Regions from separate parts of the Homo sapiens genome. Here all the other regions are linked to region 2. Evidence: promoter capture Hi-C in 16 types of primary human blood cells and fetal thymus (Javierre and others, 2016). All regions are on one chromosome and are shown on one strand. The core of a region is centred on a gene start or on the middle of the fragment in contact, and the rest is flanking DNA. Distances in the headings are between cores, read along the strand shown. Region 1 overlaps TGS1 (trimethylguanosine synthase 1). Region 2 holds the start of MOS (MOS proto-oncogene, serine/threonine kinase). Region 3 overlaps TGS1 (trimethylguanosine synthase 1). Region 4 overlaps TMEM68 (transmembrane protein 68). Region 5 overlaps TMEM68 (transmembrane protein 68).

Region 1 (2,849 bases), core at 240-2,739, 310 kb after region 2:
TCTACTACAACGTCACACTTGAAGGACTGACTAACACGGCCAGCAATGTGTTCAGCAATCTTCTCGGGTGTAACTGAAAACCAGCCCTCTGCAAAGGAAGAGTATTTGTGTTAGCATGTTCAATTTCAAGAAGCCAAGGCAAGCATAAACATAGCAAACATTACTATATCTTACATACTTTTAAAAAGCTTAGTTTCCCTTTTTAAAAAATTATAAATCACCCAGTTTTAAAGAAAAAAATTCAAAGCTTGTTATAAAAAGCAGTACCATTCCCAATTTCCACAGAAATGATGACCTCAATTCTTAACCTAATTCTTTTGTAATACTGTATACCTCCATCTTTCCAATAACTGAATTTACAATTTTGATGTTTCTCTTTGAGGCTTTAACTACTGACTCCTGTGGAAAATAGAGAACTAGCTGCTCTAATTGGCTAGCTCCCCCACACTCCGCTGAGTTTCCCAATTATTTCACTCCTAAGGTTGAAGCAATAGCCTGGATTTGTATTGGACACTCCAGAAAAAACTCCATTTTTTTTTGGAGACAGTGTCTTGCTCTGTTGCCCAGGCTGGAGTGCAACGGCATGATCTTGGCTCATTGCAACTTCCGCCTCCTGGGTTCAAGCAATTCTCATGCTTCAGCCTCCTGAGTAGTTGGGACTACAGGCACACGCTACCATGCCCAGCCAATTTTTGTATTTTTAGGAGAGACAGAGTTTTGCCATGTTAGCCAGGCTGGTCTTGAACTCCTGGCCTCAAGTGATTTGCCTGCCTCAGCCTCCCAAAGTGCTGGGATTACAGGCATGAGCCACCATGCCTGGCCAAAACTGCATGCTTTTAAAGGGTCGGAAAAAGCAAGGAACTGGATGGCAAAAGGCCATAGGGTTGCAGAAGTACAGGAGGAATAGCAGAGCCCTCATCATTGTCAGAAATGAGGTCCTGTGTCCACTCTAGAGTAAAGAGAATACTGACCTCCTTCTTTCCTAGTAGAAAAAATTTACATTTTTCAGAAAGACAATTATCTGAACAAAATGATGTGCTGGGCTGGGCGTGGTGGATCACTTGAGCACAGGAGTTTGAGAGCAGCCTGGGCAACATGGCAAAACCCTGTCTCTACAAAACATTAGCCAAGCATGGTAGTGCTTGCTTGTAATCCCAGCTACTTAGGAGGCGGAGGCATAAGGATTGCTTTAGCCTGGGAGGTGGAGGTTGCTGAGCCAAGATTGTGCCACTGTACTCCAGCGTGGGTGACAGAGTGAGACCCTGTCTAAAAAAAATAAAAAAAAAAAGAAAAGAAAAAATAAAAAGAAAAGAAAAGAAAAATAAATAAATAAAAATAATGTGCGTTAATTTTCCTGTTGTCTCCCCTTACCAAAACTTTAAATGGCTCTTCAATACTGGAAAAATAAGAATATACACTTTTATAGAATTGCAAGTGTTTTCCAGCCTTATTTCTCCTTACAAATTCCTACGTACTTTTTCCAATACACAGCATTTTGCAAATTGTTTTAAAAGGGTCAGAGAACCCCTGAAATTCCATCATAGATCAAGAACTTCTGATTTTGATAGTTAATAAAAACCAATATTTAGGTAACCCCAATATGAAAACGAGCATCAGTCTGCAAGACTGAGTTAAGTAAGCTGTTGCAGATCACAGCAGGAAAGCTGGAGAAAGAATTCAAAATTTGCGAAGTTAATTCATTAAATTGTATCCTTCTGCACTAGATATTTCTTCATCAGGTTTTCTGTTTAATAATTTATCAATTGCTTTTGCTATCTATCCTAACGTGCTACAAATACAGATTAAACCCAAGTCTGAAATTTTAAAAATACACACACACACACACACACCCCCCCAAATTGAAGGGCATCCTATAAAATAAATGGCCATTGATCCTTTGAAAAATGTCAGTCATGAAAGACAAAAAAGGCTAAGGAAACATTCCACATTAAAGGCAACTAAAGAACTTGAAAAATAAACGCAATGATACATGATCCTATACTGGAAGGAAAAAAAAAACGTGATAAAGGACAAGATTAGGACAATTAATGAAATTAGAGTATAAACTGTAGATTAAAATATTGGAACAATGTTAAGTTGATAATTCACTATTTTAAACAAAAATATACTTGTCCTTAGCAAATATACACTAAAGTATTAAGAAGTATGAGCATGATGTGTGTTAAGTACTGATCAGAAAAAGATACACACACATACATATGGAGAGAGAATGAGAACGTAAACGGGGCAAAATGTTGAAAATAGCTGAATCTGGGTAAAGGGGATATGAACATTCCCTGTATTATTCTTATAACTTTCTTTTTAAGTTTGAAGTGGTTTCAAAATAAAGCTAAAAAATACATATATACTTTACCTCTGTCCAACTTAATCCCATCATCAAAACGGGAGAAGAGCCTGTACCTCTGGGCCCAGTATTTTGCCAGCTCAGGAACAGCAGCTATTTCAGGAGGCAGACCATTCACCTTTTTGTTCTTCTTCTTGTTCTTCTTCTTTTTCACTTCAGCTAAAATAAAATACAAAGAATATAGATGCTCACTAAGAAAAAAATTAGTATCACAGGTGAGTTTATCTAAAAATGAAGCCACATCAAATAATTACAAGCAGAACATGTATATAATGACACGCCCAGAGAAACAGGAGAGCCTGATGGAAACGCCACTGGCTTCAATCACCACCAGCATTTTGCTACTTATTGGCTTTGTAAGCTTGGGAAAGTAACCGAGGGTCTTTAAGCTCCATTCATTCATTCATTTATTTATTTATTTAGAGACGAAGTCTGGCTCTGTCACCCATGCTGGAGTGCAGTGGCACGATCTTGGCTCACTGCA
Region 2 (2,700 bases), core at 69-2,568:
GAGTCAGGATCTTGCTCCATCATCCAGCCTGGTGTGCAGTGGCACGATCATAGCTCACTATAGCCTCAAACTCCTCAGTTCAAGTCTCCTCCCGCCCCAGCCTCCAAAGTAGCTAGGACTATAGGAGTGCACCACCACACTCAGCTAACTTTATTATTATTTTTTGTAGAGGCAGGTCTCAAATTCTTGGCCTCAAGTGGCCCTTCCACCTTAGCCTCCCAAAGCACTGGTATTATAGGCATAACTCACTGCACTTGGTAGAAAATTAATTTTCATTATAAAAATCAGAAAGAAAGATCTTATTGTCTGATGGCCAATACCCTGAATTTCATTCCAACTTCTGGTTTTCTACATTATATGTAGGTACCAGTGATTTTGTGCCATTTTTATTTCTTCAGATTTTTCCTCTTCTACAATTCTCCCATATGTGTTATTATTTGAAGCCCTGATCACAGCTCTGAATCATTTCTATTCTTTTGTCTCCCCCAACTCTGGTTCAAAACTTCGGTAACTCATTTGCTACGAAGTCTAGAATCTCTCTTGCAAGTGAGCTGACCGGTTGGGCCAAATCGCCTTGGAAGGGAAGGATTGTTAGGAAGTCAGTATGTTGCTAAGATGTCTTGCTAATTTGCTGTGTAAGCTGCATAGAGTGTCAGGGGATTCTCCTTTCCACTGATGAATTTAGGTGTGTGTTATGACCTGTATCAGTGATTCTATTTGGATTGATTAAGGTTGCAATTTTTTATCCATATGAATGTTGCACCTAGTTTTTCCCTGTAATTGGTTAAACAAATGTCTGCTGTTTGCATTTTAACTCTTAGCCAATACCTGCTGGAAGTGATTTAATGCAGCTGGAGAATGACACTAACAATCATTACAGCCTGCAAAGTGTGAAACAATTTCATTGTGCTTTGTGGTCTCTTTAGTCTGAGGACTGATAATGTGCAGCGGATGAGACTTGAAAAAAACGTATTTTATTATAATTTAAGAAATAATGTAAAAGAGGGGTGAGTTCTGAGGCAGCTCCATGCTGTTTGTCTGGCATGAGCTTGTTTTTATAAGAATTCACTTCAAGTGTGGAAGGGAAATGCTTTCATCTGAAAGGGATAGCTGTGCTTCATTCCGGTTTCTCCCTCCATCTGATAAAAACTCTTGCTGAGTGACAGCACAGATGTAGCTCATTTGGAACAAGTGAAGGAAAAGGAGAAAAGGGATGAGGTGGAGCGAAGGAGTAGTCAGTCATGTTTCCAAAGTCCCGCGGTTTCCCCTAGTCTCTTCATTCACTCCAGCGGCCCTGGTGTCCCCCTGCAAAGTGCGATGCCCTCGCCCCTGGCCCTACGCCCCTACCTCCGGAGCGAGTTTTCCCCATCGGTGGACGCGCGGCCCTGCAGCAGTCCCTCAGAGCTACCTGCGAAGCTGCTTCTGGGGGCCACTCTTCCTCGGGCCCCGCGGCTGCCGCGCCGGCTGGCCTGGTGCTCCATTGACTGGGAGCAGGTGTGCTTGCTGCAGAGGCTGGGAGCTGGAGGGTTTGGCTCGGTGTACAAGGCGACTTACCGCGGTGTTCCTGTGGCCATAAAGCAAGTGAACAAGTGCACCAAGAACCGACTAGCATCTCGGCGGAGTTTCTGGGCTGAGCTCAACGTAGCAAGGCTGCGCCACGATAACATCGTGCGCGTGGTGGCTGCCAGCACGCGCACGCCCGCAGGGTCCAATAGCCTAGGGACCATCATCATGGAGTTCGGTGGCAACGTCACTTTACACCAAGTCATCTATGGCGCCGCCGGCCACCCTGAGGGGGACGCAGGGGAGCCTCACTGCCGCACTGGAGGACAGTTAAGTTTGGGAAAGTGTCTCAAGTACTCACTAGATGTTGTGAACGGCCTGCTCTTCCTCCACTCGCAAAGCATTGTGCACTTGGACCTGAAGCCCGCGAACATCTTGATCAGTGAGCAGGATGTCTGTAAAATTAGTGACTTCGGTTGCTCTGAGAAGTTGGAAGATCTGCTGTGCTTCCAGACACCCTCTTACCCTCTAGGAGGCACATACACCCACCGCGCCCCGGAGCTCCTGAAAGGAGAGGGCGTGACGCCTAAAGCCGACATTTATTCCTTTGCCATCACTCTCTGGCAAATGACTACCAAGCAGGCGCCGTATTCGGGGGAGCGGCAGCACATACTGTACGCGGTGGTGGCCTACGACCTGCGCCCGTCCCTCTCCGCTGCCGTCTTCGAGGACTCGCTCCCCGGGCAGCGCCTTGGGGACGTCATCCAGCGCTGCTGGAGACCCAGCGCGGCGCAGAGGCCGAGCGCGCGGCTGCTTTTGGTGGATCTCACCTCTTTGAAAGCTGAACTCGGCTGACTGAAAACCTGGTCAAGATAAGTTTTTGTCTGATTCTATTTGTTTTTAAAGGAAGTGGAGATGTCGAAGAAAACATATTTGTAGGATGGAGTTTTAGAAAATAAAGTTACTAAAAACTCCTTTAGTCTCCAGTGCTTTTTCTAGGACACATTAGCAAAGCTACAAGTCTAGTACCTGTTGTCTCAGTACTGTTAGTAACTAATCTTATTCATATAGTCATGTGCTTTGCTTTCCATTGCTAGTATTTCATTTATTTAAATTTGTTATTGATAAAAGTTTGTCCAAAATAGAACTCCACTGCAGAAATGTCAAAATTTTCTATAAATCCATATATATCCCATA
Region 3 (2,700 bases), core at 110-2,609, 330 kb after region 2:
TTATACCATTAATTGAACATATGCCATTCAAGTGCTCTATTAACTTTAAAATGTGAGATAACAAAAAATCATTTTATGTATTAGCACACTCAATTAGCATTGGGCTGCACTCCAGCTTGATGGTCTCAGGCAACAGAACAGTAAATCTTATATAGCCAAAATGAAGACTGATAAAGAGAAATCTCTTGTGTGCAAATTCTGCTACAAGAGGGAGAAAGATACCTTTCTAAATAATGAAGGGGATTCCACTCACTACTCCATTCAAATATACTTACGAAAGCTCAGGAGACAGCAAAATGGAGAAAATGAGTAAGCTAAGTTTTATGTTCCTTTCATTGTATGCATATTTTCTTATGCTCGAGGAGCCTAGTGTTATAGGAACTTTATTTGTATAGCATAGCACTGAAACACAAACCAAACATTCCATCCAGTGATCAACTGAAGAAACAGTAATTTGTTCCATCGCCATGAGAGTTAAAGGGTTTCCGAAGGTAACTATGACACTGTACTTGGGCTGACTTTGGCTTCTAACTCCACGCTGTAATTTTCTCTGTGTCTAGGAACACAAAAGGTCTATGTGGAAGGACAAATGCAGTAGGGAAGTTTGAGACATCAAAGTGAGGCTCAATGTACAGTATAAATTATATTTGTTACTTGGGAAAGTTAACCAAGATGACAGTCTCTTTACTTCAGGCAAAAGACTATAGATGTTCACCTGGAATTTTTATCCCGTAGCATTTTTTTATCCTGCAGCATTTACCTACATAATACACTTCTCATGAAGTGTATTATGATTAGAATTTACATATTCTAAATTGGAGATGGAGTCTCACTCTGTTGCCCAGGCTGGAGTGCAGTGGCACAATCTCAGCTCACTGCAAACTCTGCCTCCTGGGTTCAAGGGATTTTCTTGCCTCAGCCTCCTGAGTAGCTGGGATTATAGGTGCCCACCACCATACCTGGATAATTTTTGTATTTTTATTAGAGATGGGGTTTTACCATGTTGGCCAGGCTGGTCTCGTACTCCTGACCTCAAGTGATCTGCTTGCCTTGGCCTCCCAAAATGCTGGGATTATAGGCATGAGCTACCACGTCCAGCCAGAAACCACATATTCCCTACTTTTCAAAGCTTTAAATTCCAGGTTGCTCTTATCTAATGGTGGCAACTCAGGAAGGAACACTACACACAGCAAAAGAGGCTACATTAAGTCAGCACAGGAGCTATAGAAAAATAAAAGATCTGCTTTCATAGAGATTCCAGAACCATGTTATAAAAGAAAATAAAAATTGTCTGATTACAGAATTATTTGGCATTTATATTTTATGCTAACAAATCAATACAATATTATAACAAATTATACATAAATTAACACATTATGGCTAATTTCAGCAAAAAAGGTTTATAGAATTTTATACTATATTACCTGAATTGTTGCCACTGTCTCTGATGTAATAGCCTTTTAATCCCAAATTGTACAATTTTCGATCCCTGCGAAGCAGATTAAGCAGTTCATATTGAAATGAATTAAGCCATCAGTTTAGAGGGAAAGAAATCTCGAGCCATCATAGATTAATTAATAAAAAGCTTATGAAACAGAAAAGCAATCTGCTAATACATTTCCCTCACTTATAATGTAGAGGCAATAATACATTTGTCATGGAGTTGTTGTAAGGACTGATAGTATATGTAAAATATTTAGCACAATGCTTAATACATGGTAGCATTTATTACTATAACTGCTAGTTACTAAAATTAAGGCTGGGCACAGTGGCTCCCACCTGTAATCCCAGCACTTTGGGAGGCTGAAGTGGGCAGATCACCTGAGGTCAGGAGTTTGAGACCAGCCTGGCCAACATGATGAAACCCCATCTCTATCGAAAACACAAATTAGCTGGGCGTGGTGGCAGGCGCCTACAATCCCAGCTACTAGGGAGGCTGAGGCAGGAGAATTGCTTAAATCCGGGAGACAGAGGTTGCAGTGAGCTGAGATCACACCACTGCACTCTAGCCTGGGCGACAAGAGCAAAAATCTATCTCAAAATAAATAAATAAATAAATAAATAAATAAATAAATAAATAAATAAATAAAGTGTAAGTTCTTCTGGACATCTGATATTCCTTATGATACATAAACAATGGGGTGTTCTCTAAATTTTGTTGTGAATAACAGTGGAGAGATTTAGCTTACATACATATAAATCAATATGCAGACACTAATCCATTTGCTAATAAGACAAACTATCCATTGTGAACAGTAGACAAGGTATTCATGGTCTGAGCAAAGGTTACCAAAATAAACCTAACAGAATACTTAAGAAAAAGTGGAAGACTCTGCTTTTAATATCTTCCTGACTATAAATTCAGCTGTAATAAACTCCACTGTAACTGCCACAAGAAGGCCAATTGCAAGTGGAAGCTAACATAACTTTTCTAATGGAGCTACAATAAATTTAACTAAATAAAATTCTAGTGTACTTGCTCTATTTCACATCCTCTTGCTTCTTTTTTGGAGATACTATATTAAATGTAAAGTAGGTGGTGACTCAGCAGGATGATGAACAGGCAAGGGGGTGACGTGCAAATGTGCTTTGGCAGCAACTGGTCCCCAGGAACATGGGCACTGGGGGTGGGAAGCAGGAGCTGCACAGGGGGCATCACTGGTCTGCCCGCCAGCACCTAAAGATATGAGGCACTGAAGT
Region 4 (2,700 bases), core at 133-2,632, 350 kb after region 2:
GAAGTCTTCCCAGAATGCCTTATATAACATAGCAACCTCCTCCTTTCCCCTACTCCCGTGCCTGACATAGAACTCCATATTCTTCTTACACTGCTGTTTATCTTTCTCCCTAGCACCTGTCATCATCTGACCTAGCATGTATTTACTAGTTCTTTGTTTACTGTCTATCTTCCCCCTCTAGGATGTAAGTCACTTGAGGTTGTAGACTTTGCTTTATTTGCTGCTGAGGAAATGGGTGGTACATATTAGGGTACATAGGTGCTAAATAGGTCTTTATAGAATGATTTATCATCTTCATTTTCAGAGAAACAATGAGACACAGAGAGGTGTAACTTGCTTAAGATTGTAAAGCCAGTATTCCAGTATGTTCAGTCTGGCTCCTAAGCCCATTCATGTCATCCACTGTGTTCCCGAAACAGACTGAAAGGATAGGCTATGTCTTAGCCCACCTCATGAAAGTTAATAAGCAGATGAGATGTATAATCTTTGCTGGGCTCAAAAAGGTTTTTTTCAAGTGTAGTTTGTAGAGATGTAGAAAATAGTAGCATATTTTTAGCTGAATGAGTCAGTATGATCGAGTTACCAAAAAAGCTGCTGTGATTCTATGAATGATAGCGATAGCAAACATGTAACACTGATTACATGTAAGGTATTCTAGGCTCTTTACACAGATTAGCCCATGTAATCACAGTAATCTCATGAGGTAGTTAGGATTATTATCCTAGTTTTATAGGTTTTAGCAAACGGAGGCACAGGGGTTACCGTACATGGTGTTGTCAGTATCAGATAACTGGAGTCAGCAACTCGGAGTGGTCTTGAGTGCTGAAAGCTTAAGAAACCAGGGGCTGAGAAGTAGTTGAAAGAATTAAGGATTCTGACTGGAGAAGGAATTTTGTGGCTCATGGCAGCTGTTTTTAAACTTACAAGGTTGTTTAATGGAAGAGGGTCTGTGGTACAAAACTAGGTCCAGTAGGGAAAAGTTACGGGGAAGTTAAGTATAAGGAAGACCTTTTTAGTAGTTCTGATGGATGGTTGCTATGTTGCATTCTAAATGATCAAACATGGGTAAATTATAGTGATTTGACTTTTTTTATTTTTATTTTTTGAGACGGAGTTTCACTCTTGTTGTCCAGGCTGGAGTGCAATGGTGCAATCTCGGCTCGCTGCAACCTCCGCCTCCCAGGTTCAAGCGTTTCTCCTGCCTCAGCCTCCCGAGTAGCTGGGACTACAGGCGTGCACCACCACTCCCAGCTAATTTTATATTTTTAGTAGAGATGGAGTTTCACCATGTTGGTCAGGCTGGTCTCAAACCCCCGACCTCAGGTGATCCACCTGCCTTGGCCTCCCAAAGTGCTGGGATTACAAGAGTGAGCCACTGCGCCCAGCTGGTGATTTGACTTTTTATATGGATTGATTAGATGATGATGTAAATAAAGCCCAAGTTGTGGGCTCAATGTTTGCTATGTTCATCTCCTGTAACCATAACAGACCAGATTTCTCACAAGTAAATGCTATTGGTTACAAGGAAGTTAGATGAAATGTTTCATTCCTGGGAGAACAAGTCAGTGCCTGCCCTCCTAATAAGCCAGTTAGCAAGATAATCTTAGAATAAAAACAATACATTTTTCTTATATGTACATCTCCTCCTCTCCTTTCATCCTTTGCTTTCATTTATTCATTTTTTGCCTCAGCTACAAAGGACTTGAGATAATTTTCAGTAAGATTATATAGTATGGAATAATGATAAAATAGTTCTAAGAATACAATCAAAGTATGGAGAAAGGAAATCTTTTGTAGGAAAATATTATCATAGGGCTAATATAATTGTATAATTGAATGTTATGTTTCACCTTCAGGTTATCTGGCAAAGTTACTAAAAAGAATCATAGTCAGTTATATATCTTCATACTTTTTCTCCTAAGAAACAAAGCTTTTGAAAACTTTGTTTAAAATAAATTCTTAGGTGGGGCTCTATATAGTGGCACTAAACAGTGTAGAGTTGTCTTCACCAAAGCAATGGTAGCATGAGTGTACTTTTTAATTGTAATATACCAGTGTGGGCCTATAATCATATTTCTTAAACATTTATGAATGTCTCTTGCTGTTTATTTTATAGAAATGCTAACTCTAGGTATTAATGATTATCTTTTTTTTTCTTAGTAATTTATTTCTTACATTTGTTTACTGTGCTTTCCAGAATAGAGACATTGAAGTTTGGGACAAGATATTTATCTAACTTCTGGTAAGTCCAATGACTGTTTTAGAGAGTGAATTTGTAAAATAATTATACAGCTATATTTTCAGTCATTTAAGATTTAAGATAAAAACAGTACTGATAAATTTTTATTGCATAATGAACTTTTGTAAATCTGTTTCTCTATAAAAAAACAATATCCATTAATGTATGTAATCATTTCGTAAAGAATTGGGTTACTTTTACTGAATTAGGTAGATATTGATGTTTTCTTTTGTGCAGAGTTATCTCAATATGGCTGGGCATGGTGGCTGATGCCTGTAATCTCAGCACTTTGGGAGGCTGAGGTGGGTGGACCACTTGAGGTCAGGAGTTTGGGACCAGCCTGGCCAACATAGTGAAACCCTGTCTCTACTAAAAATACAAAAATTAGCCAGGCATGGTGGCACATGCCTGTAGTCCCAGCTGCTCGGGATGCTGAGGCAGGAGGATTACCTGAACCTGGG
Region 5 (2,867 bases), core at 218-2,717, 370 kb after region 2:
TTAGAAAATGGATATACTATTTAGACGTTTTTCTGTTTAAAGTCCAAATGATAACTAGTTCTACGTAATGACAGTTCTTAATGCTGAATTTTTGTTGAGAGTACATATACACACTGAAGTTCTTCAAATGGGCTTTTAAAAACTTCACAGTGAATTAGCTAGTTTATTGTTTTAAACCATGGTGACAAGGTTTAGAATACATTTACAAACTATCCCAACAATCTTTTTAACTCACCCCAGAAGTTACAGCTTTAAAAATGGATGAAAATATGATATTGAACTAAGATTAACTACCTAAGGAAATAGCATTTGCTTTGGTTTATTTGTCACTTCTTGTTGTTTTTAAAAATATTTTGTAGCGGCCGGGAGCGGTGGCTCATGCCTGTAATCCTAGCACTTTGGGAGGCCGAGGTGGGTGGATCACAAGGTCAGGAGATTGAGACCATCCTGGCTAACGTGGTGAAACCCCGTCTCTACTAAAAATACAAACAAAATTAGCTAGGTGTGGTGGCGGGCACCTATAGTCCCAGCTACTCAGGAGGCTGAGGCAGGAGAATGGCGTGAACCAGGGAGGAGGAGCTTGCAGTGAGCCGAGATCGTGCCACTGCACTCCAGCCTGGGCGACAGAGCGAGACTCCGTCTCAAAAAAAAAAAAAAAAAAAAAAAATTTAGTCTGTCAGTTTGTTTTTATATTACTACCACTTTTATTTAATCCTGGTAAATTTCATGTTTGGTCATTAGTATTAGTAGTTATTTGCTTTGATGTGTTTTTCCTAATTCATAATATTATTTTGTCTTTACCTAGTTTATTTTGCATTATAGTCTCATATTTACATAAATTTATTCTTCCTTTTTTTGGTCTTTTATTTATCTAAGTTACTTATTTGTGAGACTCTATAGACTTTTTCACCTCTAGTAGTTTGGTAGCAGTTTAGCCTTTGTTTTGCAATAATAGTAACTTGTTTGCCTTTTAAAATTACTGTATTTTATTTTTATTTATTCATTGTTTACTTATTTTTGTTTAATTCCTGTACTTTAAAAGCTCATTTTAAAAAATAATTAATAAACTTTTTTGGGGGGCATTTTTATGTTTATAGAAAGTACAGAGAGTTCTCATAAATCTTCTCACCATCCCCTAGTTTCTCCTATTATTAATATCTTGCATTGGTGTGATATATTTGTTAAAATTGATGAAAAGCTCTTCTTTTTAAAAAAATTGTATTAATTGCCAAGAAGTGATACTTTTTGCCACCTTCCTGTAAGTCCTACATAATTAATTTGAAAGTTTACAGTTACATGGTCAGAATACTTAACAAGTTAAAATGATTGTATTTACTCTAAAACAGGGTTATTTAGGTGGCTTTATGAAAAATTCCGCTATCCATTTGCTCCAATGTATGGAGGTTTTCCAGTGAAGTTACGGACCTATTTAGGCGACCCCATTCCGTATGACCCACAGATAACAGCGGAAGAATTAGCTGAAAAGGTAAATTGCTTTTTCTTTTTTAGTTTTAGGACAGATTTTTATTTTCAATTATTATATTTTGAATCTCATTGATTTATTTTTATATTCTACAAGCATGTCTAGGTCAGTGGTTCTCAACCAGAGGTGATTGTATACCCTAGGGAACATTTGCTAATCCCTGGAGACTTATTGTCACTACAGGCAGGAGTTGGGGCCGTGAGGGGAGTGCTACAGACATTTAGTGGGTGGGGGCCAGTGATAGAATTTATGGTAACTTGTAGGATAGGAATATATTCCTATGCATAGGTTTTTGGAAATATTGGACTGGAGTTTGGGAGAAAGTCAGAATTGATGATGGAGATTTCAGTCATTTGCACTGAGACAGTTACTTAAGCCATGAGCTTTACAAGGCAGGTGAGAAAGAAAGAAAAGTGCTGAGAACAGACTTCAGGAGATGTAGCACTGAAGGAGAAGGCCAACGAAGAAGTGCCAGAGCTGACTGAAAGAGAACTGGCAGAGAGGTAAGAGAACAAGTAAATTTGTGTGACAGAAGTCAGCAGGTGAGGTTTTAGTAAAAAGTGGGAATGGTCAGTAATGTTAGTTTTTGCAAAGAGATGAAGGAGGATAAAGAGGAGAAAAGCCTGCCTGCCTCATAATTATACTTTCAGAGAGTATAAAACTACAAAAAAAAAAAAACCCTACAAATGTCATGTTCTCCTTTTTTTCTTTTTTACCCCATTCTTGTTAAATGCAATAAATGTTATGTTAACTGAATCACTTAGAAAATGGGATGAATGGGCCATGCTTGGTGGCTCACACTTGTAATCCCGGCACCTTGGGAGGCTGAGGTAGGAGGATATCATGAAGCCAGGAGGTCAAGGTTACAGTGAACTATGATTGTGCCACTGCACTCCAGCCTGGGCAACAGAGTGAGACACTGTCTCTCAAAAAATAAAATGGGATGATTATATTTTGATTATGACTTTTATATAGTCTTTGGTATATATATAGTCTGATTTATATTTTAAAATATAAATTATGGTAAAAACATTATGGTAAAACATATGGTAAACACATAATATGGTAAAACATAGTAAAACAAATTATGGTAAAAACACATACATGTACTATCTTAACCATTTTTAAGCATACAGTTCAGTACTGTTAAGTACATTCACATTATTGAGCAACAGGTCTCTAGAATTTTTTCATCTTGCAAAACGGACTATACCTGTTGAACACCAACTTCCCATTTCCCCTTCCTCCAGCTCCTAGCAACCACCATTCTACTTTTCTAAGACTTTGACCACTTTAGATACCTCATATGAGTGAAATCATACGGTATTTGTCTTTTTGTCATTGACTTATTTCAGTTAACATAATGTCCTCAAGGTTCATCTAT

What was found. Contacts are between HindIII fragments. The CHiCAGO score rates a contact against its expected background, and 5 or more counts as called.
Region 1: a contact is called between a fragment that was not itself captured here and the fragment with the promoter of MOS in region 2, in 1 of 17 cell types (naive B cells). The highest score is 5.6, in naive B cells.
Region 3: a fragment that was not itself captured here is called in contact with the fragment with the promoter of MOS in region 2 in 1 of 17 cell types (total B cells); the score reaches 5.5 in total B cells.
Region 4: a contact is called between a fragment that was not itself captured here and the fragment with the promoter of MOS in region 2, in 2 of 17 cell types (total B cells and neutrophils). The highest score is 6.9, in total B cells.
Region 5: a fragment that was not itself captured here is called in contact with the fragment with the promoter of MOS in region 2 in 1 of 17 cell types (neutrophils); the score reaches 5.1 in neutrophils.

What each region holds. Positions count from the first base shown.
Region 1 is chr8:55,802,132-55,804,980 of GRCh38, reverse strand. It overlaps TGS1 (trimethylguanosine synthase 1), which reads right to left. Exons shown (of 13, transcript NM_024831.8): 9 at 2,375-2,524; 10 at 1-88. Among named protein-coding and RNA genes, the nearest start is that of TGS1, 30 kb to the right of the region's middle. The HindIII fragment of the contact is 2,479 bases long and covers 250-2,728 here.
Region 2 is chr8:56,112,600-56,115,299 of GRCh38, reverse strand. MOS (MOS proto-oncogene, serine/threonine kinase) reads left to right here and starts at 1,318. Exons shown (of 1, transcript NM_005372.1): 1 at 1,318-2,358. The coding sequence starts at 1,318. The coding sequence ends at 2,358. RefSeq lists an enhancer at 1,439-1,939. The HindIII fragment of the contact is 4,963 bases long and covers 1-2,700 here.
Region 3 is chr8:55,781,537-55,784,236 of GRCh38, reverse strand. TGS1 (trimethylguanosine synthase 1) reads right to left here. Exons shown (of 13, transcript NM_024831.8): 2 at 1,425-1,489. Among named protein-coding and RNA genes, the nearest start is that of TGS1, 9.4 kb to the right of the region's middle. The HindIII fragment of the contact is 456 bases long and covers 1,132-1,587 here.
Region 4 is chr8:55,763,478-55,766,177 of GRCh38, reverse strand. TMEM68 (transmembrane protein 68) reads left to right here. Exons shown (of 8, transcript NM_001286657.2): 2 at 2,198-2,242. Among named protein-coding and RNA genes, the nearest start is that of TMEM68, 8.6 kb to the left of the region's middle. The HindIII fragment of the contact is 1,101 bases long and covers 832-1,932 here.
Region 5 is chr8:55,742,100-55,744,966 of GRCh38, reverse strand. It overlaps TMEM68 (transmembrane protein 68), which reads left to right. Exons shown (of 8, transcript NM_001286657.2): 7 at 1,347-1,486. Among named protein-coding and RNA genes, the nearest start is that of TMEM68, 30 kb to the left of the region's middle. The HindIII fragment of the contact is 6,352 bases long and covers 1-2,867 here.